Linked DNA regions of Homo sapiens: regions 1, 2 and 3 are each linked to region 4. Evidence: promoter capture Hi-C in human tissues and cell types (Jung and others, 2019). All regions are on one chromosome and are shown on one strand. The core of a region is centred on a gene start or on the middle of the fragment in contact, and the rest is flanking DNA. Distances in the headings are between cores, read along the strand shown. Region 1 has its middle 15 kb from the start of MIR4289. Region 2 overlaps SHC3 (SHC adaptor protein 3). Region 3 holds the start of SHC3 (SHC adaptor protein 3). Region 4 holds the start of S1PR3 (sphingosine-1-phosphate receptor 3).

Region 1 (3,091 bases), core at 436-2,935, 230 kb before region 4:
CACTCAAGGATTCAACAGCAGGCAGCCTGGTTGTATAAACTGAGTTTCAGGAAGAAACTGAGTTGATACATCCCAGGTTCTATTCCTTGGGAAAATAAAGAGAAAAAAGTAAATCCCAGATGGTGGTGCTAGAGAAAATCCCAAGCGAGGCCAATATACAGGGATTGGAGAGGGGGCTGGGCAAAGAGGTGGATACCGTGACATTTCAAACTTGCAGTTCCAAATCCAGAGCAGATGGGGAGTGTTGAGTTGCATTTCTGAGCTGGGTTATAAATGGCACTAATCAGCACAAGGTAGACTTGGCATTTCCTGAAAGCTCCACAGCGGCCTTTTTTGGGGGTTGGGGGACATTCAACATTCTACTGCGGAGAGCTGCAGCAGACCATGCCGTCTGGAATAATTACAATGAAAAGACACAGATTGGCAGAATGGATAAAAAACCATGGCCCTACTGTGTGCTCTTTATGAGACACTTACTTCACATTCAATTACACAGATAGGGTGAAAGTAAAAAGAGGGAAAAAGGTATACTATGAGAACATTAATTTTAAAAAAGACAGAAATGGCTACATTAGTATCCAATAATATAGATTTCAGAAGAAAGAAAATACCTAAAGACACAGAGGGATATTACATAAAGATGAAAGGGTCAATCTACCAGAAAGACATAACAATTCTTAATGTGTATACAAACAACAACAGAGACTAAAGTACATGAAGCAAAAAACTGACAGAGCTGAAACGAGAAATAGACAAACTCACAATTATGGTTGGGGACTTCAATGCAACCTTCTGATCAACTAACAGAAGTACTAGAAGAAGATCAGCAAAGATACAGAAGATTTGAAAAGCATAATCAACCAATAAGATCTAATTGGCACATAGATTATACTTCACCCAACAGTAGCTGAATACACATTTTTAAGTGCTCATGACCATTCACAGACCGTATCCTGACCAAAAACAAGTATCAAAAAAAATTTTTATTTTTTTTATTTTAAATTTTACTTTAAGTTCTAGGATACATGTGCAGAATGTGCAGGTTTGTTACATAGGTATACATGTGTCATAGTGGTTTGCTGCACCTATCCACCCGTCATCTCGGTTTTAAGCCCCGTGTGCATTAGGTATTTGTCCTAATGCTCTCCCTCCTCTTGCCTCCCACCCCCTGACAACCCCTGGTGTGTGACATTCCCTCCCTGTGTCCATGTGTTCTCATTGCTCAACTCCCACTTATGAGTGAGAACATGCAGTGTTTGGTTTTCTGTTCCTGTGTTAGCTTGCTGAGAATCATGGTTTCCAGCTTCATCCATGTCCCTGCAAAGGACATGAACTCACTCTTTTTTTATGGGTGCATAGTATTCCATGATGTGTATGTGCCACATTTTCTTTATCCAGTCTATCATTGATGGGGATTTGAGTTGGTTCCAAGTCTTTGCTATTGTAAATAGTGCTGCAATAAACATATGTGTGCACGTGTCTTTTTAGTAGAATGATTTATAATCCTTTGGGTATACACCCAGTAATGGGATTGCTGGGTCAAATGGTGTTTCTGATTCTAGATCCTTGAGGAATTGCCACACTGTCTTCCACAATGGTTGAACTAATTTACACTCCCATCACCAGTGTAAAAGCATTGCTATTTTTCCACAGTCTTGCCGGCATCTGTTATTTTCTGACTTTTTAATGAGCATCAAAATTTTTTAAAGAATTAAAGAGTATGATTATCTGAGCATAGTGGAATCAAGCTAGAAATTAATGACAATAAATGAAGGAAAATCTGTAAACATGTGGAAATTAAACAATATGCTTCTAAATAACCCATAAATTAAAGAGAAAGTCTCAAAGAAAATTAAAAAAATGGTAGAATGGAATGACATATTCATGTGAAAATACAGCAAATAAAAATATGTGAGATGTAGCTAAAACAGTGTGGGAGGAAAATTTATATCACTAAATGCTTACGTTAGAAAAAAGTAAGTCTCATGTTATAAATCTAAGTTCCTACCTCAAGAAACTGAAAAGAAGAGCAAAATAAACTAAAAGCAAACAGAGGAAGGAAACAATAAAGATCAAAGCAGAAATGAATGAAATTGAAAATAGGAAAACAATAGAAAAAGCTAATAAGACCACAAGCTATTTTAAAACAAATAATAAAATTGATAAATCTCCAGCAAGAGGTTTCACTAATATCAGGAATGAAATGGAGGAATAACCCTGAAGATCCTACAACCATGAAAAGGATTATAAAGATAATAAGACAATACTATGAACAACTTGATGTTCATATAAATATGAATATTTAGGAGAAATGGACCAATTCCTTGAAAATCTAAACTCAGCTAACATGAAACAGATAATCTGAGGAGTCCTATAATGATTACATGAATTCTTAATTGAAAACCTCCTGAAAAAGGCTGGTCCAGGTGCTTTCATGGGATACTTCTCCTAAATATTTTAAGGTGAATTAACAACATTTTAATACAATTTCTTCCAGAAGACAGAAGAGTAGGGAACACTTATTTTATTAGGTCAATATTACTCTATTACCAAAACCAGAGAAAGACATTTCTAAAATAGAAAACTACAAAACAATATCTCTTGTGAATTTACCTCAACAAAACATTAGCAAATAAAATCCAACAATATATAAAAGAAATTATATACTGTGACCAAATGGGATTTAATCCAGGTACAAAAGGCTGGTTCAATGTTCTAAAGTAAATATAATCTACCATATCAACAAGGCAAAAAAGAAAAATCATATGATCATATCAGTTGATACAGAAAAGGTATTTGACAAAATTCAGCATCTATTTTTTGATAAAACTCTCTCTCAGCAAGATTAGGATGGAGTGGAACTACCTGAACTGGATAAAGACTATTAACAAAGAACCTATAGGGAACATCATACTTTGTAGTGAAAGACTAACTTCTTTTTCCCTAAGACTGGGAGCAAGGCAAGACTGTCGATTCTCACTACTTTTATTCAGTATAGTACTGGAAATTTTAGATGGTGAAAGAAGGCAATAAATAGATAAATAAACAAACAAACAAACAAATAAATAAATAAATAAATGGCATACCAATT
Region 2 (3,261 bases), core at 699-3,198, 150 kb after region 4:
AGCTTGCTAAAGAATTCAAAGAAATAATGAGAGTGTGTAGGCAAGAAATCAGAGTCATCAGAAGAGCTGCAACTTACAAAGACCCCAAAAGCAAACTCAATTCATCAGGAGCAAGAGGAAAATAAATGAAACACGTTGCTCCTTCAATCCATAAGAAAAGAACGATAACAGCCCATAGTACAAAGACAAAGCCATTATTTTGTAACAGAGTCTTCACAAAGACTTTCCTCTGCAACTATGAGTCTGTGCAGGCTGCAAACGCACTGAAAGGGCAGGAAGCCAAACCAGAGTTGGGAAAGATTAGTCATAGATGTCACCCTTTGTAGACTCTGATGCTTCTCGCCTTGCCCTGGGAAGCCGTGAGCTGCCAGCTACAGAGACTTGGGGGACAAAGAACATGCATCTGAGGGCAAGGGTGACAGCAGATCTGTCCTACTGGTGGAGAGAGCTCCCAATCCAGACCCTAAGAGAGGGTTCTTGAATCTGCACAAGAAAGAATTTGAGGCAAGTCCATAGAACTACGTGAAAGCAAATTTATTAAGAAAGTAAAGGAATAAGAGAATGGCTACTCCATAGGCAGACCAGGCCCAAGGGCTGCTGGTTGCCCATTTTTATAGCTATTTCTCAATTATATGCTAAATAAGGGGTGGTTTATTCATGCCTCCCCTTTTAAGACCATATAGGGTAACTTCCTGACATTGCCATGGCATTCGTGAACTGTCATGGAGCTGGTGGGAGTGTAATAGTGAGGACAACCAGAGGTCACTCTCATTGCCATCTTGGTTTTGGTGGGATTTAACCAGCTTCTTGACTGCAATCTGTTTTATCAGCAAGGTCTTTATGACCTGTGTCTTGTGCCAAACTCCTGTCTCATCCTGTGACTTAGAATGCCTAACCGTCTGGGAATCCAGCCTAGCAGGTTTCAGCCTCATTTTATCCAGCCCCTATTCAAGATGGAGTTGCTCTGGTTCAAATGTCTCTGACATTTCCCCTCTCCCTTTTCTAAGAGAACCCTTAATCCTAAGGGTTGCGGAGGGATAAAGATCCATCTTCTGTAACTTCTTCAGGATGATTAGAGGTGATGATATTCCTGCCTATTAGGGTCTCTTATATTAGGCATAGAAAGGAGCTCTGTCAGGAGGCATCAGTATAGTAAGGGTGATTCATGACTCTTGAGTTCTGAGAAAAGGTGGTATCTGGAAGATTAATAAGTATTCAATTTAAGAAAACATTGAGTAAGCTTATCCTGCATTCCTACACGAAGAGTACAACAGTAATACATTCCACAGCAGTAAAGCAAAATAAGTACAATTATTTCAAGTAAACTAAACTAGAAGTCTTTCCATGAATTGGGAAACTGTTGGAACCAGGCTGATATGGGATTGTTAGCTGATTCTAATGCACCCAGAATTAGAATATTGATTTTATCCAGATGTTTTTTACATTACCCATCCCTCTTATTTCTTCTGAGCAGCAGTCAGAGATTGCTGGTTGGTTCACAGGAATGAGCCAGATCAGCCTAAGTTGAAGAAAAAACTCAAAAACAACCAATGAGACTAGAATCTAATAACAAGTGTACCATAGTTCTTGAAACATAATCTTTCTCTATCCAGTTTACCATTGTTACTAAGGACAAATCATGGTAAGACTGTTTTGCTTTATTACACTTGGCCTGATTATTTGTATAAAGTGCAGTAAGAATAATTATTTTTCACATAAGCTGTTTTTAAATTGGCTTTTGTGAAACTCTGTTCCATAGAAGGAATCTCAGATAAGACTTTTATAAAGCTGAGCCCTGCCATAGGTTTGTACCCTCAAATACCTATGAGTTGTGTCAATTCCTTTCCTTTTGAAATCCCAAGATAACTTGGGGCTCCTGGGCCTAAGATAAGTGCCATTCTTTACTTATCACACAGGTCAGGAATTCTGTACAGAGACTGCTGTAGACTAGGCATGAGGCCAGTTTCTTCAAGGGGCTTTTATTAGCTTTACAAATCAAGTTTGATTCCTTAAAGGAAAGAACACCATTACAGTCAAAGCGTTGGTAAAATTACCAGTTTCTCCAATTCTGTCCTATTGCAAAAGGGCTGATAAAGGCTGACTCTTGAGCCTAGCTAGGGAGCATGGCTCTCCATATGTCCCTAGGCCTTATTTAGAATCTAATGCTCTAAAGTAGGTAAATTGAACAATTTTCAAAACTTAAAGAAACAGTTTATTACCTTAAAGCATTTAGCAAGCCTAATATCTGACCTGAGTAATTTAGACCAAATGTTTAAATTTTGAAGACATTTTAATTTTACCAATAATTTTTAAAACTGTCATTTCTTGAAGAGTACTAAAGTCACATGAACTAAAAGCCATTAGACTTTTTACTTTTCTGACAAAATGCTTGATTTAAGCAGTCATTGTTTTTAAACCAATGAAAGCTTCTTTTTTATATCACAAACACACAACACACATAAATACATGACAGAAGAAGACCCAGTAGTTGTAAGATTTTTCATTTACCAGTTTCTTAATTGGATTACTGGCTTCAGGGTGGAGCCCAGAGCCAGGAAAGCATGCATTTTCTAGGGCTAATAAGCAGGGACAGCTGGAAGGCAAACAGATTCCCCCCCCCAGATTAAGGGTCCTGCTTTTATACCAGATCTTGGATCCCAAAAAGAAGGAATCAGCCCCTCCCCATGGAAGTCTTATCTCTCAGTGGCGGTGGTGGTGGGTGGGGGGGCGCATCTCCATACTTCCTAGGTGGCCAAGAGCATGTGTTTCTTATCCAAGCATGCACAGCTGAGTATTTCCCAATAACTGCCATTAGCCATCTCCAAAAGTATATTTCCTACCTAGTTATTACACACCAAATTCTCTCATAATGCAAAACAATTTCTGATACCTGCAAAAGTCAAAAACATCAGATACGGCAATGCAAAACAGAACAAAGCCTTAGATTTTGAGAGGAAACTAACTGCTTTTAATTCCTGGGGTTTCATGAGGAAAAAAAAGAGAATTTTCCCAAAACAGGGTCCGTGGCACTTCCTCTGTTTTTCTCCAGGAGTTCTAGGCTGTTAGTAATTATCTCAGGTTCTCTTATGTCGGCATTAACAGTGGCAAAAAGACAAAATGAAGAAAAACAGTTCAGTCGACTGAGGAGAAAAACTTTTTTCAGAAAGAACAAGATTCAAGAAGGGGAAAAAGATAAAGCCCTTTTAAATATATATAGTTTAGATATCCATATTTTAAATTAATTAAGCTGATTTTTAACCA
Region 3 (3,273 bases), core at 131-2,630, 190 kb after region 4:
CTGGGTGAGAAAGTAAAGCCCGTCGAAGAGAAAGCAGCACAGCATTTGGCCTGCTCTGCAAGGAGCTGGGAATTCTTGCTGCGGGGGGCAACAAGATACCCACCCTCCCGCCGGGGAAGACACAGCAGGAGTAGGGCCGCCACTCCGTGCATCTCTCCTCCCGGGGGCTGCCCAGCTCTCCCCAGCGCGTTTCCTAGATACTAGGCAGGCCGGACCCCCGCTGCCCAGGGTTGGGCGCCCATGACACTGGTCAGACATCTGGTAAGCCAGGTGGCAAAGGCGTGCCAAAAAAGTGGAGCCTAGGGAAAACCGGGACGGAGCGGGCCACCCGAGTGGTAAACCTTTTCCCAATGGATGCGGGAAAAGCGCATTTGTAGTTCCCTCCTCACCGCTGTCAAGCGAGCTGATTGCTAAGGAGTGCGCATTTGCTTGCCTCTAACGTGACAGTCGCGGGAGCGCCCCGCACCCCGGGCTTCAGGGAATGAAGGAGTCTGCCCCGAACTGGCCCCAGAACCCCCAGCCCCCAGGGCGGCCCGCGCCCGCACCCACCTTGACCACGTAGGTGACTCCGGGCCCCAGCACCTGGTCGCTGGCGTGCGGCGCCCCCCGAGGGGGCCTGGGCAGCGGCTCGTCGCCGGGCCGGCCCTTCCTGGCGGCGCTCATGGCCGGGGCGCGGGGCGCCGAGGGCGCACTGCCGTCCGGGGCGGCCAGGCTGGGCGCGCTGCAGCTGCCCGAGAGCCGCGCGCCCGCCCGCTCCCGGGCGGCCGACGACAGGCCGCGGAGGCCCGAGCTGGAGAGTTTCAGGTGGGACACCTTGTGGAGCAGGTGGCCCAGGCTGCCGGGCCCATCGTCGGGCGCCTTGCGCAGCGCCTCGCCGGACACCAAGTAGGGAGCCGCCGCCGGGGTCGCGCGCGCCGCCGAAACCTTGCCTCCGCCGCCGCTCACCGACAGGCTGTGGAGAAGGTCATCGACCGATGTCACCGAGTCATTCCTGAAGCGGTTATACTTGGTGCGTGGAAGCATGCCCCTCCGTGGGCTCGCTGCATCCGCCCGGGCGCTGCTGGTGCCGGCCCCGGCGCGGGCTGCCGCGCATAGCAGGCGAGCCACTGTCCCCGGAGCGGGACGGAGAGTGGGGGCCCCGGGACAGCCTTCTGGAGAACGAGAGCAGAGCAAGAGGATGGTGCCCTCCCACCGTTAAAAGCCAGCACAGCGGCGGCCGCGCAGCCCCGGCCCGGGAGACCGCTGCTTGGGGTTGCACGTTTGCTTTGCAAAAGTCATAGTTGCCTCTGATGGAGCGCCCAGCTGCTTGGGGCTGCTCACAGCAAAAGCATGACTCACTCTGAGAGGAGACCCTTCTCAACAAAGGCTCGGTGAGCACTGCAAATCACTTCCTGTAGCAGAAGAAAAAAAAGGAAAAAAAGAAGAAAAAAACGACATCCACCCGCTGACAGCACACTATAGCCAATCAATTCTCAAATTTCCTTTTTCTACCTTCCCAGATATTTCCTTCCAACCTTTGATTTTTCACCTTCCCATCCCCCGCAATCTGCATTTGTGCCAAAGGTAAATCCAATCCAGTTCCTTCAAATCGTCAAATGAACTTTCTGAAACCCATTATTCTGTTAGGTTTTGCTCGTCCCTGCTCAGCCCATCTGTGTGAGCCTGTAAAAGTGTCTAACAGCGATGCGTTAAAATGTGACGAAGGCTTTTTAAGAATCAGATCTTCAGCGAATCCTGATGAATCTTGACTTGGAAGGCAGCAGGAATTTTTAAATAGAAAAAAACAAAAAGGATATTCACCCCCAGGTGACTGTAAAATACCAATTTCCTGGGTTTTGCTTTTTCTTTTCAAATTAACAGAGCAGCGATGACAAGTGTCTTTGTGGCAATGCAGTTCCTCAAAAAAAAAAAAAAAAAAAAATCTGCATATGAACTTCTGCACAGTGCCAATCAAGGGGTCTTCCCTGCTCATTTACAGCAGTCTTTCTCAGCCAGGGTTAAGTTGAATATCCACTTCCAAAAAAGAAGAGTGCTTCTTTCACGAGTGGCAACAGGCTCCAGAAATCCATTCCAAAAAAGGGGCTGCATTTGAAGCTTTAATCCTACTGAATGTGTTTAAGCTCTGGAAAAACGCCTAAGAAATGCTACAAATACATTTCAATGTTCCTTCAGTTGCTGCTTGCAACCCTGCAGTCAGGAAGGAAAAAATGCAGCTGTTCTTATTGCACATCAAATCCACAAGGAGGAAAATATGCCTTCTTTTCAGGAGTCAGGCTCGGGCTTGCAAGTAAAATGCACAGGCCTTCTTCCTCTCAGTTAGGAGAGCAAGGCTTTCGCTGTCCCCAGAGGTCTGCCCGAGACTGAAGCCCTCTGACTCTTGACCTCAGTGGGCTCTGCCAGGCTTCCTCATGCATTAGGATCACCTGCTCCACAGTGAAACACTCACTATCAAAGTTTTCCCGCAACTTCTGAGCAAGCGAATAAATTCAGCTCTAGCACACTCTCAGGTCACCCTGAGTCCTCTCACTCCCATGACCGAACATGTGGGGCACGTGAGGTCCTGAGTCTTGAACCCTGCTCTATGGAGCAGAGTTTAATGAGCGCCACTCATGGCGGGCGAGCGGGTGAGGCCAACCCCTAGGACGCAAGAGCGCAGAGGAGCCGCGGCGTCCCCGGTACAGGAAACGCGTCCCCACGGCTCGCCTCCTGTGCCGCAGCCCTAGCAGAACAGCTACACGGCACTCATTTGTTCCCTTTCCCTAGCTTGCATAGCAACAGCAATTGCACACCCCATAGATGATTTTGATGGTTATCAGAGTCCTCCCCAGATCTGTAGCGAAACAGCCCTATCATTCCCAAAGCGAGATCTTCATTAGATGCAGACAAAAACCGCAAAATGTGAATGAAATGCTGTTTGTGTGAATGAAAAGGCTAGCGAGCGAGCCAGCGTTTCTGTGAATGAAGCAGGGCCTTGCAGCCGGTGCCAGGCAATCCCCTGGGCTCCAGCGGCCTCAGCCAATGAGCGGCCGCCCCGATGACTCATTCAACAAAGGCTTGCTCAATAGTGGAAGATTCCATTTCAATCAAAGGCGGGATCTTTTATCCAACGGCAGTGTGGGAAAAAAAAAAAGAAAAAGAAAAAAAAACACCCAGCCGGATTACAAAGATACCGGGAGGAAGAGGCCAGCTGCTATGGAGAGGAAAAGCTAGTTTTACAAGGGAATTCAAGATCCCTTGGTCAGGTCTAAGTGTGAAGAGGGTCTCTCTTGGAGG
Region 4 (3,291 bases), core at 82-2,581:
GCTCCCGGGGGCCAGAGCCTCTAGGGCTGGCAGCCTCAGCAGGCAGAGTCACTTGCCTCCTTCAGCTCAATTGCTGAGGGCTTGCGTTTCTCTGCAGGGAACAGGAGTGCCGCCGACTTCCACTCTTGGTGCCCTTCACCGCTCAAACTGCACCCCAAATAAGCGTATGCACCCTGCTCCAAGAGAAGGATGCGCTGGGCTGATCCTCTGGAGGCAAGAGGGCAAAAGACAGAAAGTAACGAGCGGCCTTTGCACAAACTCAACTCTCTGCAGCGGCCCCTGCGGCCCAATCCTGCCGGCCCAGGAATGCACGGTCGGATAACAGGCCTCTCCTTGCTTTTTCGTCTTCTTCCTCCCGCTTCTCTCCTCTCTCCTTTTCCTCCTCCTCCTTTTTCTTTAATTTTCTCCTTTCTCCCCAAGCTTCTACAGTTGTTTCTGTGTTCGCTCAATCATGGCCTTTGGCATTGATTGAAAATTTGGCAGTTCCTTCTCTCGGAATTCTGTTTGAAGCCTTCATATGGATTTATTATTATTATTATTATTTTTGCCACACAAAAGGGGCAAATCCGCGTGAGGAAGGGGGTCGCATGGGGGTCGGCTGAGATCTGCTGGCTGCCGGTCTAGGAGGGGCGCTGCTCTGTGCCGGAGTGGGCTCTGGTGCACCAGCAGAGGCTGGGGGAGAGTGCTGCCCCCGCCTGGAGCCCAAGTCTCTGCGTGCCTGGGGGTAGAGCGCGGAGAGGGACCAGGCAGGCGCCGGAGGGGACCCGCGCGGAAAAGGAAGAAGCCCAAACAAAAACGCTGTCCGGCGCCAGGCGCCCACCTGCAAGCCCAAGCCGGTGCTCGGCCAGTTACAAAAGAAATGGTCAGGATCTGGACAACGATAATGATAGTATTAATCCTCCTATTAAGAATCGGCCCAAACAAACCCTCGCTGTCAGGGCGACAGGCGCCCGCCCAAGCCCAGACCTCGGACCTGGTTCCAAGCCTGTTCCCGCTGGGTCTCTGGGCGCCCGGTTTCTGCACCTGGAGCTCGCCCGATGAGGACAAGGTCTGGAGGCCGGCCTGGGAACAGGGGCCGAAGGGCGAGCCGGACCCTAGGGGATTGGTAGGGTCGGGGAGAAGGGGTCCAGGCTAGGGGCGGGCGGGGCGCACGGAGACCAGGCGGCTTGAGCGGGAGGTGGGGAGCTGGAGGAGTGCCGGGTTCGCGGGCGGGGGACGGGGAGAGGGGGGCGGGGAGAGGGGCGGGAGTCGGGGGCGGCGAGGGGAGGGGCGGAGCGCGGGTCCCGCCCCGGCGGGCCGCTGGAAAAGTTTAGTCTCTGACTCGCTCGGGCAGAGGCCGAGGAAGCCGGTTCCGGGGACGGGCAACAGGGACTCAGGGACCAGAAGGCGGCTGCAGGACGCGACCGAGCAGGACCCCAGGCCCGGGAACGACGTCGCGAGCGCTGAGACTGCCGGGCCTCCCAGCCCATCTGGCATTCGAGCGCAGGACCGGGCGCCCCGGCACCGCCGCGCGCCACCCGCTAGGATGCCGGTGGCCCCAGCGCCCTCAGCCGACGGAGGTGAGAGGCGGGCCCGGGCGGGGCGCGGAACCAGGGTGGGGGGCTGGGGGCCGAAGGACCCACCTTTCCAACAAAATCCCCACCGATCCCGGGCGCGACGGGGACTTGGGCGCGCCACGGCGGCCGGAGCGCTCCACATCAGCACCCCTCCCCCAGAGCCGCTGCAGGAACAGGGAGGAGGCCTTTTCCACCGCACCCGGAGCGTTTACAACGGGCTGGAGCTGAATACCTGGATGAAAGTGGAGAGGCTGTTCGTGGAGAAGTTCCATCAGTCGTTTTCCTTGGACAATTAACAAGTTAGGCTTCCACAGTGCCAGGGCCTGGGGATGCTGGACGTGGGAGAGGGTTGTGGTCGTTAGCCTGGGAAAATCATTCTTTTAAACAATATTCGCCGGAAAATTAGTTTTTTCCTAACATTTCTCAAACAAGGCAATTAGGGCCGTCAGAATCGGTGCTGGAAGACGAAGTCCCCACAGTGCAATAATGAGGTTCCCACGGAAAATCAGTACGTTGTGTTCGTAACTGAGATAACAGCTAGAGAAGGGGCTTTGGGCTTTTTGAGTCTCCCAATAGTCAGTCTCTCTCTCTCTCTCTCTCTCTCTCTTCCTCTGACTTTCTGGCTTTGGACACTCCCAATGGTATATTTCTTTGTGGTGTTTTTATATTTGGATATAAGAGAGGAACTTCTTGTTGGATTTTTAAGGGAACACACTTCGTTTTGACCCTTCCAATAAGGAAAGGGGAGCTACAGGAACAGAGAGCTCTTTAGAAGGTTACTTTTAAATGGAGGCCCCCCCATTCATGGTACCCACTCCCACTTGGACCTCTGAGACCTCCAGAATTAGGCATCATTCTAAAATCTGGACATTAGAAGTCACAGACTTTGTATATAACCACATATTCATAATTTATCTTTTCAATGTTTTTTATTCATAGATGAAAATCTTGCAGGCATAGTTAAGAAAAATATAATTCCTAGAAAGTACAAGGGAAGGATTATGCTCTGCAGATACATGACTAACAAGGATAGCTGGCCATGCCCAGGGCTGGTGTTGGTTGAGGAGGTGGTGATGGTGCGGGGCATGTGTGTGTGTGTGTGTGTGTGCGCTTGAGGAGTTGTGGAAGTGTTCATATCTGTAAAGTATTATTTCATGGATGCAGACCTTAATGCTAGGTTGAATAACTTTGTTGCCATAGAAGAAGAACCGCACGTCAGGCTTTTTTCATTAGCAAACCAGTAAGCACTCACTTTGGGCCTCTGAAATCACTTCCATCACCTAACACCAGAGATACAAACTGAAGCTAGCCCTTAAGAGCCTCCCCCTAAGATTTAGAGAGAATGATTTCTCAACCAGTTTTCATCTTTGAAAGTGCCATTTCTCCCTTTATCATTGTGATTTTTATTCAAATGCATGAGTCTCTGATTTTCTACCATATACAAAGGGTAGAGACTACAGTTTCCTATAGAAGAAACTTCACATAGTGGCCGAAGGATCTTATTTCTCAAAATTCAGGAACTGGTTTCCTCTTTCTGGAAATTATGACATTAACTTGATTTCATGGTATCTCTTTCATCTTCCTCAATGCCTGTGCTGTATGTATATTTTTATTATATACTGTAGGTATATTTTTATTACCAAAAAAAGGAGAATTTGAGCATGCCACAATCTTGAAAAATCTGAGGTTGCCCTGCTGTAGAACCCTTTAACTGCCAGGACTTTGTACTGTTTCC

The links. Contacts are between HindIII fragments. The study calls those that stand out against the background at their distance.
Region 1: a contact is called between a fragment that was not itself captured here and the fragment with the promoter of S1PR3 in region 4, in 6 of the 25 tissues and cell types used here (IMR-90 fibroblasts, bladder, heart left ventricle and 3 more).
Region 2: a fragment that was not itself captured here is called in contact with the fragment with the promoter of S1PR3 in region 4 in 4 of the 25 tissues and cell types used here (heart left ventricle, heart right ventricle, mesenchymal stem cells and 1 more).
Region 3: a contact is called between the fragment with the promoter of SHC3 here and the fragment with the promoter of S1PR3 in region 4, in 1 of the 25 tissues and cell types used here (IMR-90 fibroblasts).

What each region holds. Positions count from the first base shown.
Region 1 is chr9:88,759,336-88,762,426 of GRCh38, forward strand. No RefSeq gene overlaps it. Among named protein-coding and RNA genes, the nearest start is that of MIR4289, 15 kb to the left of the region's middle. The HindIII fragment of the contact is 3,626 bases long and covers 1-3,091 here.
Region 2 is chr9:89,137,725-89,140,985 of GRCh38, forward strand. All of the region lies in intron 1 of SHC3 (SHC adaptor protein 3), which reads right to left. Among named protein-coding and RNA genes, the nearest start is that of SHC3, 39 kb to the right of the region's middle. The HindIII fragment of the contact is 4,407 bases long and covers 1-3,261 here.
Region 3 is chr9:89,177,438-89,180,710 of GRCh38, forward strand. SHC3 (SHC adaptor protein 3) reads right to left here and starts at 1,381. Exons shown (of 12, transcript NM_016848.6): 1 at 550-1,381. The coding sequence starts at 1,023. The HindIII fragment of the contact is 9,677 bases long and covers 1-3,273 here.
Region 4 is chr9:88,990,137-88,993,427 of GRCh38, forward strand. S1PR3 (sphingosine-1-phosphate receptor 3) reads left to right here and starts at 1,332. Exons shown (of 2, transcript NM_005226.4): 1 at 1,332-1,559. RefSeq lists a silencer at 878-1,172. The HindIII fragment of the contact is 13,055 bases long and covers 1-3,291 here.